Linked DNA regions of Homo sapiens: region 2 is linked to region 1. Evidence: promoter capture Hi-C in human tissues and cell types (Jung and others, 2019). All regions are on one chromosome and are shown on one strand. The core of a region is centred on a gene start or on the middle of the fragment in contact, and the rest is flanking DNA. Distances in the headings are between cores, read along the strand shown.

Region 1 (2,806 bases), core at 200-2,699:
TACAGGTGAAGGGGCACCCCTCCAGGACAGGAAGTAGGAGGTGTGTGGACAGAAGGGGTCTCTGGAGGCAGCCACTGCTCTTGCTGCCCCTGGGAAACTGATCCTGGCATCTGCTAAAGGGTGTGGGCTGGTGCCCATCCAGGAAACAAGGTGTGGGAAATTATAGGTCCTCTTTGGACCTGTTGTGCAGCCAAAATTGGAGGATTTGCATCACACAGTCTGGCTAGATCTCATCCTAAGATCTCAAGTCAGTCTGACGTCTGTCTCCTGGGGCAGAACTTTGGATTGGGGAATGTGGGAGTGGGGAGGAGCCAGGTGAGCAGGGATTTTTCTACCCACATGACAGCCTTCTGGGGACACCTGCTGGTGGTGATCACATAGCTCTTCAGCCTCTGCAAGGAGATCTTCTTACTGCTAAATGTGAAGCAGCAAGTAGATGGGACGTTGAGTGCATCTAGAAATAGTTACAAAGAAAAAGACTTTGAGGATGTGTTAGGCTTTTCTCAGCTTGAATACAGCAGGGAGCATCTGTATGGGATGCAAAGCAAAGAGGAAGAAATAGATCTTACTCACCCCCAAGCCCAGCACTCCCACCCTAGACCCTGAGGTGAGGTGGGACCTGTGACATGTGCCTCAGGATCTCAAAGGCTCAGCTGCATGGTGGAGACATGTCACAGCCATCTAGGGGAGGCCACGGGCAAGGCCAGTGGGAAAGGTCCTGGGTGTGGTCCCAGATCTGCAGAGTTTGGGACGATCAGATGAGGTCAAAGAAAAGGCCCTAAATCTGGAGTCAGAAGCTTAGGTTTCATTCTTGCTCTGCAATAACCTGGAGGTGGATGGCTAGGGTCCCTTCTGCCTCCAACATGGGCTTCAGCTTTCTATCTTTAAAATTAGATGTTAAAGTGAACCTCTGAGGAGCCTTACTATTCTGGTGGGCTTAGAAGTGGGGCACTTGGCTGGGCCTGGTGGCTCACGCCTGTAATCCCAGCACTTTGGGAGGCCGAGACGGGAGGATCACTTGAGGTCAAGAGTTTGAGACCAGCCTGGCCAACATAGTGAAACCCCTTCTCTACTAAAAATACAAAAATTAGCTGCACGTGATGGCGGGTGCCTGTAATCACAGCTACTCAGAAGGCTGAGGCAAGAGAATCGCTTGAACCTGGGAGGTGAAGGTTGCAATGAGCCAAGATCGCACCCCTGCACTTCAGCCTGGGCAACATAATGAGACTCAATCTAAAAAAAAAGTGGAGGAGCACTCGGGCTTAGGTCTTCCTTGAATAGAGAAACAGAGGGAAAGAGAGGGAGAGTCGAAGGGAGGTGACTTACCTGGCTGAGCAAGTCCCTGGGGGTTGAAAGCTGCTGTCATGAGCAGCAGGCACAGAAGCACTGCAGAGACTTTCATGTTGAAGGTTAAGAGTTGGAGATTTCACAATGTTTCTTTGCCTCTCTGCTCCTCTGGCTGTTCCGCCGGCCTTTTATAGGGAGTGGAGAAGCTTGGAACTCTCAGAGGACCTTGGCCTGAGCAGGGCGTTGACCAAGTCATGATGAAGGGGGATCCTGAATCTGCTGAGCTGGAGCTGGGCACCAAAGACTTTTCTAGGAAATGCAAGAGGGAAGCTGAGGGCTGAAACAGCATGGCATGGCTTCCTTCTGGCTGTTCAGGCCACAAGGAGCCAGAGAGGAGAAAGGGACACAGACGCGCCCCAGCCATTCACCATGGGAAGCCATAAAGGAGCTGTTTTCTTCTTACTTTCTCCAACAGGAAAGAGAAAAACAATGAAAATTAACTCCTGTAGAGAAAGAGTGCTGTGCTAAGGACTCTGTTCACGTTATATATTTAGTTTGAGGAGGTACATACCATTATTATCATGCCCATTTCATAGAAGAGGAAACGGATGCAGAGAGATTAAATAACTTGACCAAAATCTTATGGGAAATGAGAGGGAAAGCTAGAAGAGAAAGCTGGTCTGCTTATATTTTATCACCAAGGCAGTTTCAACTTTTGTTTAGCAGCAGAAGTCTTTTTCCAAGTCAACTTTTATGTGGAAGTCTAATATCTGAAACAGATTAAGTCAGATTTCTGATGACAGGGGCTCCTTACATTACATATTGTGTCCCCTTCTGCCCCTCAGGCCCAGAGGGACATGGTTCAAACACCTCTGATTGATGCAGGCCCCGTGTTTCCAGGAAGGACCATTGGGTTTCTAGAGCTGTTGATGGGAGGGCTGGGGTGGCCCTCAGAGCAAAGAAGTGAGGTGTTTGGCCCATTCCTGGGCTCCTCCTGCGAGGGGCACATATCTGGGAGCTGGGAGGTGGGGAGGGAATGGCTTAAAATGGTTGAACATGTCCCTTTCCCACTCATCCCTAGCTCCAAGACTTGGCACAGTTTTTGTGCCTTCCTGGAATACTCATCCCTCTGCATTCCACTATAGCAAAATAAGCCCAGTGAAAGTAAAGGGAAGAAATAAAGAGCTAGGATTAGAGAAATAGGAAACAGTAAATATTAGAAAGGATAGATGAAGCCCAAAGCTGGTTCTGTAGCCTATAATTAAGCTAAAACTCTCCTGAACTGAAAATGAAAAAAAAAAGAAAAAAGGGGCTGAGGCGGGGGGATCACTTGAGGTCAAGAGTTCTAGAGCAGCCTGGACAACATGGTAAAACCCTGTCTTTACTAAAAAAAATACAAAAATTACCCAGGCATGGTGGCACATGCCTGTAATCCCAGCTACTTGGGAGGCTGAGGCAGGAGAATTGCTTGAACCTGGGAGGCCGAGGTTACAGTGAGCCAAGATTGCACCACTGCACC
Region 2 (2,806 bases), core at 159-2,658, 560 kb after region 1:
GATGACCTTTATTTAAGCACAGCCTGCAGCACATTCCTGAAGATGATTTCCTCCATCGGCACAGAACACACAAACAGACAAGTGAATAAGCAAAGCCAACCCTACTCCCCATCAAGATGCCAGCCTGAGAGCTGCTGCGCTCCACAGAGCCAGGTGCTGGATTTGTGCTAATTGGATGAACAGTCTCATTCGCTTGATGGCTTTGATCTGTGCTTTGGGCTGTTCCATCAAGATTTCTTAAACACAAATTGATCTCTGCTAATTCATGCGTCACCACTGAATATTTTGACACCTGACACCTCCTCACTTTGGGGAATCAGTGGAGGCTGGCAAGCTAGTGGTCTTAGACATTCTCTACCCTTCCACGCAGCAAAGCTTCCTGAGCCCAGAATCTCTGCATAAACACCTGCTCTAAGGAATCTTTCTATACAATTATCTCATCCCATTTGTCTCCCTTTCCTACTTCCTCCTCCTGCCCCAACTTTCTTGCCCTTTTCAATTTTTGTTCCAATACCTACTTCTCTCCCTTTACCTCCTCATCTCGCTAGTCCTTTAGTTTCTCTCATCCTTTTCCCACTTCATTTTCTTCCCTCCGGCACTGATGAAAGCTGCATCTCCTTTTCCCATCCTGTTTCCCATCTGCTCCTTAGAGCCCTCTCTCCTCAGCTGCCACCTCTGCCATCACCTCTCCCCACTTCCTCCTTTGCACACTGCGATGATCCCTCTCTCGCCAGGCTCTGTACAGCTGAGCCAGCCTATGTGTGGGGGCTAGTCCTGTGAGTGATGAGAAGGAGGAAGCCATAGGATGCTGAAGTTGTAGGAAGAAGCACTCAGGTGTGATTGAGAAACCCCACCTCCTTCCCTGCTGCAAGCACTGAGCAGTGTCCCCAAAGGCCAAGAGTACAAACGCGGAACATGCCCACATTTCAGTCCTCCAAACAGCCTTCTGTCTGCAGACAAATAGAACCAGGGAAGCGCAAACTCACGCTTCAGCAAATTACCTTGGTCAGGCACTCTGAGCAGCAATTAACATTTATCAGAATAAAATATCTGTTGGACCAGTGAATGAACCCATCAATAATGCTGTACACAGAGCCAAGCTTCACATCAACATGCATATTTATTTACTAATGATCAATCATGGACCAACAAAATTAGACTGAAATCTAAAGTAATGACAACAACAATTATAAGATAAATATATAACATTTATACATCAAGGTAGCAGGATGCAATAATACCGCCTAACCTATTTCCCCCAGCCATTCTGCATTACTAACTCATTTCATTCTCACAGTGCCGCCAAGGGATTTCATTCTTCCCTGTGCACACTCCTCGCTAGTCATGCCAGACGTTTCCCTGACATCTCAGAGGTTTGTCTCAGCTCCAGGACTTTGCACAGCTCTACTTCTGCCTGGAGGGTCCACTCCTACTGTCTCTTTCTAACCTCTTCTTGCTCATCATGTAAGACCCAGCTCAAGTGTTACCTTCACTCTAAAACTTTCCCTGATCTATGCAGCAGAATTTCATCTTCATTTGTTTGTTGAACATATTGATGTACTGGGCACTGCGTCAGGGGTGAAACTATGGCACTGAGTGAGAGAGAAAAGGCTCCACTCTCATGGCTCTCACCTGGATCTGCATGCCCCATAACATGCACTGAACATGTCAGCATTTCCACTTTGCTTACTTCCAGCTCACCTACTGCATGGTTCTTGCATAAGGGAGACACCATACTTGAGTCTCTATGTATAATAAATGTTGGTTGAATGAATAAATAAATGAAGGAGGAAACTGAGACTCAATAGATTAAATGATTTGCACAAGATCACACCTTTAGTACATGAGTGAGCCAAGCCTGGAGCTCAGGGTTCCCATCCCTTAATCTCCTACCAGCCCCAAGTTTCTCTGTATGGCAGAAATACCTTTTTCCCTCACTTCATACTTGTCATTCAAGGCAAGCATAGGCCAGGCTATGAGTGAAGGCCAATGACTAAAGGGAAAGAGCGTTTCTGGCAGCATCATTTTCAAGTATCAGATGGATCTTGGAAATGTATGTGTGAGTGTCTGTTGTTACATAATATTTAAAGTTGACCATGATATAGAGTCAGTGTTCACTACAGTTTTAGCCTTTACATTATACAGGCTAGCTAATGTTCATTTCCTTTGTAATATCAGTATTATCTAGGTATTATTATTACTACTAATAATAACTAGCTTTGAGATCCAACCTGCTATTAAGCATGTAATATTATTTCTAATTCCAACAAAATCCTTGGAAGTTAAGAATTAGCCTTATTTTTATCAATAAGCAAACAAGAATCCTGAGGAGCAAAATGACTTGTTCAAGGACACAAACTGGCAGATACTAGATTTGGGATCTGACCCAGATGTGCTTAGCATTATGTGTTTTCCATTCTGTGGCACTCTGGTGTGTATTCCATGTTTCCCAGGGAGCACAGAGCCTTGAACTCAACTGAGAATTTTCTCAAAGTATGTACTAAACACATTGGTGGTCTACAAGGAAGGTGGGGGAGTCTGTCCTCCGACACAATTATGGTTTTCTAAACCAAGGGCAAGAAGAAGCCACTGTGATTGTGGCACTTGGCCTATTAAGTGGAAAATGCCCTCACAGTCATGGAGATTTACAGTAAAGGCATATGCAGTCAACCTCTCACAAAGCCTCATCTTAACAGTGTTGATAATCTACTGGAATTCTCCCAGATTCAACAAGTATTCATGAATTTCTGCCATGTGCTCAACTCAGACCTCTTTTTTTGTTGTTGTTTAACTTCAAGGGGAAGAG

The links. The method cuts DNA at HindIII sites, captures the fragments that hold promoters and counts their contacts. A contact is called where the count stands out against the background at its distance.
Region 2: a fragment that was not itself captured here is called in contact with the fragment with the promoter of CCL13 in region 1 in 1 of the 25 tissues and cell types used here (dorsolateral prefrontal cortex).

What each region holds. Positions count from the first base shown.
Region 1 is chr17:34,355,123-34,357,928 of GRCh38, reverse strand. CCL13 (C-C motif chemokine ligand 13) reads right to left here and starts at 1,449. Exons shown (of 3, transcript NM_005408.3): 1 at 1,327-1,449; 2 at 340-454. The coding sequence starts at 1,402. The HindIII fragment of the contact is 2,821 bases long and covers 1-2,376 here.
Region 2 is chr17:33,795,881-33,798,686 of GRCh38, reverse strand. It overlaps a transcript of ASIC2 not described here. Among named protein-coding and RNA genes, the nearest start is that of ASIC2-AS1, 240 kb to the right of the region's middle. The HindIII fragment of the contact is 3,291 bases long and covers 1-2,806 here.